Regions from separate parts of the Homo sapiens genome. Here region 1 is linked to region 2. The links are contacts of gene promoters, found by promoter capture Hi-C in blood cells and fetal thymus (Javierre and others, 2016). All regions are on one chromosome and are shown on one strand. The core of a region is centred on a gene start or on the middle of the fragment in contact, and the rest is flanking DNA. Distances in the headings are between cores, read along the strand shown. Region 1 overlaps PTPN1 (protein tyrosine phosphatase non-receptor type 1). Region 2 holds the start of UBE2V1 (ubiquitin conjugating enzyme E2 V1).

Region 1 (4,819 bases), core at 1,495-3,994, 430 kb before region 2:
AGGTTTTCACATGGAGCCCTGAAACAAGCCAGATAGAGACCTAGTATAATCCACAGCATTCCCAGTGGCAGGAGGACCCAATCAAGACACAACAGAACTCTCTGTGCAAACACTATTCAGGCAGGGGTGGCAAGCACTGTCTTCCCAGCTCCCTGTGCCTCGAAGAGCTCACCATGATGATTAGCTCCCTAGAGGCTGGACTCTTGAGTACTTGGCAGGCTGATGGGCACCTCTGCTGAACCCTGGACGGTAGCAGCTTATTTCCTGGATATTTTGCCTTTCTACCTGAGTCCAAAGTATAGGTGGTACTTGCTCCTCCAATCCCTGAGTGACATGGTTTGTAGTTTTGCCCCCTCCAAATCTCACGTTGAAATGTGATCCCCAATGTTAAAAATGGACCTAGTAGGAGGTGTCTGGGTCACGGGGCCAGATCCTTCATGAACGGCTTGATGCCGTCCTCATGGTAATGAGTTATCACTCTATGAGTTCATGTAAGAGCTGGTTGTTTAAAAAAGCCTGGCACCACCCCCTTCTCTCTCATAATTTTTCTGTTAAGTTTAAATGTATGTTTTTAAAATTTTTAATAAGGCTGGGCACAGTGGCTCACGCCTGTAATCCCAGCACTTTGGGAGGCTGAGGCGGGCAGATCACGAGGTCAGGAGTTCAAGACCAGCCTGACCAACATGGAGAAACCCTGTCTCTACTAAAAATACAAAAAATTAGCTGGGCGTGGTGGCGCATGCCTGTAATCCCAGCTACTTGGGAGACTGAGGCAGGAGAATCACTTGAACCTGGGAGGCGGAGGTTGCAGTGAGCCGAGATCACGCCATTGCACTCCAGCCTGGGCAACAAGAGCGAAACTCTGTCTCGAAAAAAAAATTTTTTTTTAATAAATGAAGTTTAAAAAAGTGAGAGGAAGTGAAAGAAACAGACGACAGGCAAAGAAGATCAAACATACACATAACAGGCTGAGTTCCTGAAGAAGGAAACCCAAGCAATGTACCAGACGAAAAACGGAAAACTCTAATTCAAGATTTTCCTGAAATTAAAAAAAAAAGATTTAAAACTACATATTGAAAGAGCACATGGATTTTTGAGGGAGAACAACCCAAAACAGCCAACACCAAGACATGGTTGCATAAATGATGAGACTTTGAATTAAAAGGTTAAAAAAATCCTTTGTTCCTCAAGCCCAGGAGTTCAAAACTTCAGTAAGCTCTGACTGCCTCACTGCACTAAAGCCTGGGCAACAGGGTGAGATCCTGTCTGTTTAAAAAAAAAAAAAAAAAAAAAAAAAGAGAGAAAGAGGGAAAAAATCCTTTGGGCACATAGACAAAAAACCCTAAGTCACTTATAAGCAAAAGATAATTAGACTGTCAAACATTTACAGCAATGCTTTATACCAGAAGACAACAGAATAACATATTTACCTTAAAGAAAGAAAATGTGATCCAAACATTTTTATATACAGACCAAATGGCCTTAAAATAATAGGCTGCTGACAAACTATTATGAATATGTACTGTTGATTCACAGAAGATTGTTCCCACAAGCCCTTCCTGAGGAATCTAGTGCAGAAAGAGCTTCAGGAAGAATTGAGAGAAGAGGCTGGGCGCGGTGGCTCACGCCTGGAATCCCAGCACTTTGGAAGGCTGAGGCAGGTGGATCACCTGAGGTCGGGAGTTTGAGACCAGCCTGGCCAACATGGAAGAAACCTTGTCTCTACTAAAAATACAAAATTTGCCAGGGGTGGTGGCACGTGACTGTAATCCCAGCTACTCAGGAGGCTGAGGCAGGAGAGTCGCTTAAACCCAGAAGGTGGAGGTTGCGGTGAGCCGAAATCGTGCCGTTGCACTCCAGCCTGGGCAACAAGAGCGAAACTCTTTCTCAAAAAAAAAAAAAAAAAAAAAAAAAAGAATTGAGAAGAACTTAGAGTGAGCATTAATATTTACTAGTAGGTCTAAGATAGAAGGATGTAAGGGAGACAACACTCTATACTACAGCTATGTCCGAGGCAGAGGCACAGAACAGGACGAGTTTGTGAAAAGTAAAACAATCTTGCTTATTGCTTTTATAGGTAGCAGCTAGGAATACTTCAAATCAGACTCTGGAGGAGGGTGAAAGAAGGGAGAAGAAATGAATATTAGCTAACTTCAACACTGCTCACAAAAGGGAATCACAACAACAGCCAAACACTGAGAAGATGAAGGGCATATAATAAAGATAATAGTATAGAAGCAACTATTAGAAAACACAAATGTTCCTAAATGCCAAAAGATTTAATGATTTATAAAATTTCTTCTCATATTATACAAATAACATGTCCAGTGTATATAATACAAAGATATAACAATAACCTAACCAGTGTTCACAGTCTGGCAGTGCCTACTCTTCCCCACTCTTCTCCAAACACACGCAAACGTAAACAGCGAATTCTTACTGCTTGTTTTTACACAGAAAGGATCACACTGTACACATCACTCTGACAGTCACACCTAACTAGTTTTTCTTCTCAGGTCCTTGCTGTTTGCTTGTATAGCCCCTTGGCCGTTTTATCTCCTGTTTCTACATTTTTTTTCCAGCTGACTTTCTGGTCAGTGTGCTTGTAGCTACCCCATGCAACCTGACAACCAGCTTCTCTTCTGTCCTTTTCATGCTTTCTCAACTCCAAATACTCTAACACAACTTCCTTTTCACATTTCTGTTTTTTTTTTTTTAACTTTTTACAACACCCTCAAATCAAAACTCGGGATTGTTTTCTGATTATAAAGGTACTGTGTTTCCATTTAGAAAATTCAAGCAACACTGAAAACCAGGAAGTATAAATCAACTGACCACCTATGTACCAACCAGGGTGCTGAGTATCTTTTCGGTTATTTGTTCCCCAGAGAGGCAGCCAGTGGAGAAAGCTCGATGGCCTATTACCACCTGAGAACAACATCCACTCAAGATGAAGAGCAAAAGCTCAAAGCCTCCTCTGTTGCTGGAACTTTCCCCATGTTTATTCTTCTACTTACTCTACTCTGCTTAAATTACGGGCCATTTGACATGTACATTACTGTCAGGCCTTTTTCAGACATTGCTGATGCTTCAGTCCATTTTGAACGGCATTCAATGGTTCTCTGTTGGTTAGGTATCATCCAGCATACCTTTCAGCACCCAGGGTAACTATAAACTGGCTAAACCGTATCTAAACAATCAACAGGCTTATAAAGTACAAGCAGATTGGCAATTCTGTTTTCAATCTCATTTCTCTTACAGGTAGCTGCTTTCTTAAAACAGGTTTAAAGAAAACATACAAGGGTATGACGGAGATATGATTAGGAGAGGGAATGCTTTTTGAGGGCAGAACAAAACAACCTAGAATTGAATCACATTAAAAACAGCTTTATAATAAAAGAGTATTGAAAACACAATGCATACACACGTGGATACGAGTAACACTGGGGAAATATGAATAAGATGAGCAGACTGTATCAATGTCAGTATTGTGGTTGTGATACTGTACTGCAGTTCTGCAAAATGTTATGGGCAGTGGATGGGGGAACTAGGCAAAGCGCACATGGGATCTCTCTGTTTTATTTTTAAAGTTTATTTATTATTATTATTATTATTTTTGAGATGCAGTCTTGCTCTTGTTGCCCAGGCTGGAGTGGAATGGTACCATCTCGGCTCACTGCAACCTCTGCCTCCGGAGTTCAAACGATTCTCCTGCCTCAGCCTCCCAACTAGCTGGGATTACAGGTGCCCGCCACCACACCCAGCTAATTTTTGTATTTTTAGTAGAGACAGGGTTTCGCCATGTTGGCCAGTCTGGTCTCAAACTCCTGACCTCATGATCTGCCTGCCTCGGCCTCCCAAAGTGCTGGGATTACAGGCGTGAGCCACCGCGCTCAGCTCTGTATTATTTCTTTCAACTGCACAGGAATCTACAATTATGTCAACAACAATTTTAACTAAAATATATGATTGGCAAAATATAGATCAAAATGTTTAGAGTGCTTATAAGCTGCAGTGATAGGAATAAAGAAAAATTTTACTTTTTTTGTTTTCTACAGTAAACATGAAATATAGCATAAAAATAGAAAAGTAAGTATTTCTTAACAAGAGGTAAAAAGATATAATCAAGACTTGGGACATGTAAAAAATATTTTATAAAATCTCAAGGAATATAAGTAAAGGGAATACAGGACTGTTCAACAAATTACAGGATTCTAAGTTATTAAAAACATCCTTAAAATTAAAAAAATCTGGGTAAACAAAGGGGAGGGCCTATGTATAGTGGTAAAACATTAACTTAAGGAAATGGTATGTCAGGAGGCGATGTGCTCTAGGGACCAATGTTCTGGCCACACGCCTTCCCTGTGTTCTTTAGAATTGCTAAGCCACTTCTAATCACATCATTCTTTAAGCCTTGCTTAAGTGCCCAAGGACCACTTCAAACAAGCTCAAAGCTCCTTTGTAAACACTTGCATTGCATCTTTTATTTTTCTTTCCCAGCACTCCTCCACAATTAAAATTAATCATTTGTGTGACTGTTTCAGGTTGGTCTTCCTCTTATAATTATAAAAGAGGCCATTGGTACACGTTTCTGATCAGCACACCGCCTGGCAACTGCATTCACGGAATACATTTTTAAATGAAGTAAGCGCCAACATAAATTATATGAATATACAGATGGCTATCACACTGCCTTATAGGGAAAAGTAAGACTCTTCTGTTCAAGAATAACTGTTAGGTAGGTAGATGACTCTCAAGAGCTGAGTCTTCAATAAGGCTTTATTTAATTTCACAAACATTTCTGAAGGATTTATGGAGG
Region 2 (5,192 bases), core at 2,080-4,579:
AGCTCAAAACCTCCCAGGCTCCACCTCCCTCATCACGGGAGAGCCAGCGGGTGACACAGGGTAAAGAGAACTGGATTCCAAAACTGATTTTACTCCTTCCTTGTTGTGTGACCTTGGAAAAGCCATCTAACTCCTCTAAGTCTCAGTTTTCTCATCTCACAAATGGAAATGGTAACAGCTACTTTGCAAGGTTCATTGAGGATTAGGTAATAATAGCAGCTAATACTTATATTGCACTTAGTGCCAAGCCCTCTTCTAAATTCTCTAGTTCTATTAACCATTTTAATCTTCCCCAAAATCCGATAAAACAAGACTCTTATCCCATCAGCTGAGTTTATCAGCTCAAGCGCAGAGCGGTGATCAGGCGCAGGCGCCGGAAGGAATCCTGCTCTGGGGACCGGCTGTGACGTCCAGGAATGGGGCAGAAACTCTTCGAGGGAGCGTGTGCGCGGGACGTACTACAACTCCCATCAGGCACTGCGCCAACGCTAGACTACAACAACCAGCATGCCTCGGGCTGTCCCGCCTAACCTCTTCCTGCGATGAGCTCGGCACGGGAATTATTATTGTCAATTTTACTTGCAAGAAGTTTCCTACAAGAGCCAAGGAATCCATGCGAGTAAACATTTACGGGCACCATAGATAAAAGGCTTGTGTTTTAATCCTCATCCTCTCCACCTGTTAGCTCTGAGTCTCAGTTTTCTCATCTCTAAAAATGGGGATATTCACAGGAGTTGCTGCATCGAGTTGTGAGGATTAAAAGTTGGATGTAACGGCTTGGTAATTATGAGCTCTTCTAGTGTCCCTTCCTCTTCCCTGTGCCCAAGGGGTTTTAGGAAAGCATTTTATCTCCACAGCAATCCTATGAGGTTGATACTACTATCCTCATAGAAGGGGAAACTGATGCCAGGAGAGGTTCAAGCGTCTTACCTGAAGTCACAAAGCAAACTGAGTGATGAAGGAAGACTTGAACCTAGAAAATTTCACTGCAAAGGTGAGTCCACCTTAGGAACCCAAATGCTTCCACTTGCTACTGATGCTTTACAGTGACCCCAAGTCCAGGGCAAGTATTTTCTGTGCTCCCCAAAGCAAACTTGTATCACGTGATACACGAAAAGTCAAGTTGCTTCACCTGTAGCCAGTGCTGGCACTTTGAGAGCTAATTATAGCTGAATTTGATGTGGTTGGAGGAATCGAGGAAGGCTTCCCTGAGGGGATGGTGCTGGATCTGAGAACTGAAGAGTGGGAACAGCACAGGCAAAGCCCCTGAAGTGGGAGAGGGCATGTGTTCCAGGGGGCTTGCAAAGGGCCAGTGTCGCCGCAGAGGTACAGAAAGTCTCAGAGGCGCAGGCTGTGCCAAGGCTATGGTGAGGCAAGTGGGGTACCTAGGGTGCAGATTTTTTTTTTTTTTTTGAGACTGAATCTCTCTCTGTTGCCCAGGCTGGAATGCAATGGTGCAATCTCAGCTCACTGCAACCTCTGCCTCCCGGGTTCGCTCGATTTTCCTGCCTCAGCCTCCCGAGTAGCTGGGATTACAGGTGTGTGCTACCACGCCCCGCTAATTTTTGTATTTTTAGTAGAGACGAGGTTTCACCATGTTGACCAGGCTGGTCTGGAACTCCTGACCTCAGGTGATCTGCCCACCTCGGCCTCCCAAAGTGCTGGGATTACAGGTGTGAGCCACCATGCCCTGCCCTAGGGTGCAGATTTTAAGGAGTCACTCACCTGCAGCGCTGTGCAAGTGCGGAGTCAGGACCTGAGTGAAAGCCCCGTTAAATCTGACCACCCCATCCTCGTCCCTGCCCTGGGTGCAGAGCCTGGTGCACAGGGTGTCCAGGCATCCTGCTTTGCCCTGGAGAGCCCTGGTTTCCACTTGTCCTGGTGAGATTATAATAAGTCCCCTTTTAATCTGATGTGTGTCCTCATTAGGTGATAATTCTATGGTCGCTCAACTTGTAAAGTTTGTATTTTATCCAGAGGGAATGGGGAGCCACTGAAGGCTTTAGCTGGAGGGTGTTTTGAGCAGATGTTGGTCTATATGGAGAATGGGCCATAGGGGAGAGAATGGAAGCTGCTGGGGTCTTCCAAGTGGGAGATAAAGGCAGCTTGCCCTGAGTGGAGAAGTGAACGGAGTGGAGAGATGCAGAGTAGGCACTGCTATCAGACAAAGGTGATGAATTGGATGTGCTGGGTGAGGGCTTCCAGCTTCCTTGTCCCTCTATGTTTAGAGTCCTGGTCCTTCTGCCAGTATTTTGCTCTGTGACCTTAAGCCAGTCCCTTCACCTCTCTCAGCCTCAGTGTCTACATCCATATAAGGGCTTCTCAGACAATTTATAATAAAGGAGGAGTACCTTCTTGGGTTTATTTATTTGCAAAAATATTTCCCAAGGGCCTTTGCACAAGCTGTTCCCTCTACCTCCTCATTGTTACGGTCTCTGCTGAAATATGACCACCTTAGGAGGCCCTTCCTGACCATCCTCTGCTGCTCTTGTCTTGGTTTATCTCTACCCTATCAGAATTATAGTTTCCTGTTTATTTACTTGCTGTCTACGACTAGAATGTAAGTCCCTGAAAGCAGGGATTTGCTTCTTCAGAGATGTCTATCCATCCCCAGCGCCTAGCACAGTGTCTGGTACATAGTAGGTGCTTAATGTTTGTTTGTTTGGTTGAATGAATGAATGAACGAATGAATGAATGAATGAATGAATGAATTGGGTAGATGGTTAGCAAATGCTTTCCCTGCCACCTTAATGCCCCTAAATCATTTAGCTGCACCCACTCCAAGCCTTCTCTGGCCGGGGAGCATCAATCCTAGGAGCCAGATCATCTGACCTGGAGGGTGATGATTCAAAAAATTTGAACCTGGAGGTTAAAATTCTGCCTGTCTCTGCCACTTAACAGCTGAGTTTAGATAAATCGCTTGATCTCTCTCGGCTGCATTTTTCACATTAATTCTGACCTTGCGGAGATGTGGTGAGGATCTAGATAGGAACTAGACAGGAAAAAGCCCCAAGCGAATTCGGCGCTTTTGTTTGAAGCTATATTTTCTTTTTCTTTCACAATCGCGCCTTCCCAAGCCTAGTCACCCCTGCCCTTCTCACTAAGCACATCACAACCTCCCTCGCACCCGATGTGTGGGGACTTGCAGGTTGCTGGGCCCTCGAGCACGCAGATATTTCCTTTCTCTAAAAGGGAAGGAAAAGAGCCTTCCAGGCCACGGGTCGTGCAGGTCTCCGGGGCGGGCGTCAGCGGCGGCGTATGTGCGTGCGCGCGCGCCTGCGCATCAGGGCCGGGGGACGGGTAAGGGGGGGGTGAAGAAGGGGCCGGCCTTCAAGCAAGAGCGACGCAAGATGGCAGCCACCACGGGCTCGGGTGAGCGGGGGCGCCGGGCCCGGCCGGCCGAGGGGGCATGGGCTTGGGCCGGGGGCCGGGGACCCTCAAAGCCTCCTGCAGCGGAGCCAGGGTCCCCGCGCCGCCTCTGTCTGCTGGGCTCCGCGGCAGCCACCGGCGCGGCCTGACCGGGGGAGGAGGAGCAGGCGGTGGCCGGAAGCACGGGCGGGGGGCTGAGGGGCCTGTGGGCGGCGCGGCGAGGCCCTGAGGCTCCCCCGGGAGGCGTGAGGGCCCTCTGTGCTGTCTGGGGGAGCCGGAGTGGGCGAGGAGCGAGCTCCGAGGCACTCCTGAGGATACCGGGGCTGGCGACTCTTAAGGGGCGATCTAGAGGTCCCCTAGAGGAGGCGCCCCACAGCGGATGGAAGTCCCATACTGGGTGCCAGGGGTGCGGCTGAGAGGGGCCTTGGGATGTCTGGAGGGGACATCAGAGAAGCCCTTCAGGCTGGATGGAAGAAACGGGATCCTGAGGGGGTGACTTGAGAGGATCCCCTATCGGTTGAGGGAACGGCTCCGGCGTTAGTTTTAGAGATGGGGTTAGCTGAGGAAATAGCTATGTTGACTAGAAAGGAGGAGCCTTGGAGCAGCTGCTTTTGGGGAGAATGAAGGGGGTCTCCGCATGATAAGTGAGAGGAGGGAAAAGGATTCAGATGCCAGAGGGACCTAATAGCGGTGATAGTGAAATGACCCCATCATTACCAGTCTCCTGTTCGAGGATACAGATGGATTGCTTCAAGTTAGGTTTCAGGGGACAAGGTCCGAGTGGGGCAGTTGGTGGAAGCCTCTGATATTGGATGAGGGAGAACAGATGAATTGGGAGCCCCGAGGATGTCTCTTTGGGAGTGGGGATTCAACTGAGGGAAGCCCCTGAAATGAGGGAGTGGAAAAGGTCGGGTTCCGGAGATGTTTCCTGTAAAGGAGAAAAGTCTCCTCTTTTTGAATTGAGTGAGGGAAGCATATCCTAGAAGTGTCTCTTCTGTGGAGACGCTCACTCTCATCGACTCCTTTAATAATTGGGACAGATATGTGGGTTCAGCTCAGAAGTTCCCCACTGGCTGATGGGAGTAGGGAGGTGAATAGATGAAATGGGAACTCTTGGGTGAGGCTGCACCCTCAGGTGCCTGGCAGTGAAGTTGGCCAAGGAGGTTCTCTCAGATGGGGTGAAAATGGGTTACCTCTCTGATGGAGGAAGCAAACAGGGCCACAGTGTTCCCCACTGTGGGGCTGCAGGGACACCAGCCTGAGTACAGCAATCATTGGCATATTTAAGGCCACAGCAGCGGCAGTGTTGGGAAGGAATTGGTGATCCATGGGAAATAGGGTGAGGGGAATTCTTTATAAATGTTGCTACTCTGCGGTCTCAAGGAGCCATACTTGCCTGATGGTTGGGGTGGGAATAAAAGAAATTGAATGTGGGGGATCTGACTGAAGTGACCCACCACAAGCTGCTGCCTTTTGAGTTTAAAACAGTGGGGTCTTCTTGCAGAATAGCGGAGACCATGAATCCTTTTACTCGATTTTGGTTTCAGCTGGAACAGTGCTGAGTCAATTCATTTACCATGACGCTGCCCCAGGCACTCCCAGAAGAGAGATTCTGAGTCAGGCCAGACTGCTGGGTAAAACTTCTCACCAGAATAACACTCCTACCGGGTCGTAATAAACGAAGGGGCCCAGTGTGCTGGTGGTAGCCAGCAATAAGGTGCTGTTGCAGCTCAGCCCTGCTTGCAGTCACTCGGTTGGCTACCTACAATCTGGGTTAACAGCTGCCCGGTTCTAACTTCTCCAGACCCTGACAGTTAAAAAGT

Evidence for each region. The method cuts DNA at HindIII sites, captures the fragments that hold promoters and counts their contacts. A CHiCAGO score of 5 or more calls a contact.
Region 1: a fragment that was not itself captured here is called in contact with the fragment with the promoter of UBE2V1 in region 2 in 1 of 17 cell types (monocytes); the score reaches 8.3 in monocytes.

The regions. Positions count from the first base shown.
Region 1 is chr20:50,536,123-50,540,941 of GRCh38, reverse strand. The region is part of intron 1 of PTPN1 (protein tyrosine phosphatase non-receptor type 1); the gene reads right to left. Among named protein-coding and RNA genes, the nearest start is that of PTPN1, 28 kb to the right of the region's middle. RefSeq lists an enhancer at 1-407. The HindIII fragment of the contact is 7,346 bases long and covers 1-4,819 here.
Region 2 is chr20:50,111,287-50,116,478 of GRCh38, reverse strand. UBE2V1 (ubiquitin conjugating enzyme E2 V1) reads left to right here and starts at 3,329. Exons shown (of 4, transcript NM_001032288.3): 1 at 3,329-3,372. The coding sequence starts at 3,351. All of the region lies in intron 5 of PEDS1-UBE2V1 (PEDS1-UBE2V1 readthrough), which reads left to right. RefSeq lists silencers at 402-558, 3,262-3,801 and enhancers at 2,410-2,977, 2,982-3,091. The HindIII fragment of the contact is 8,664 bases long and covers 1-5,192 here.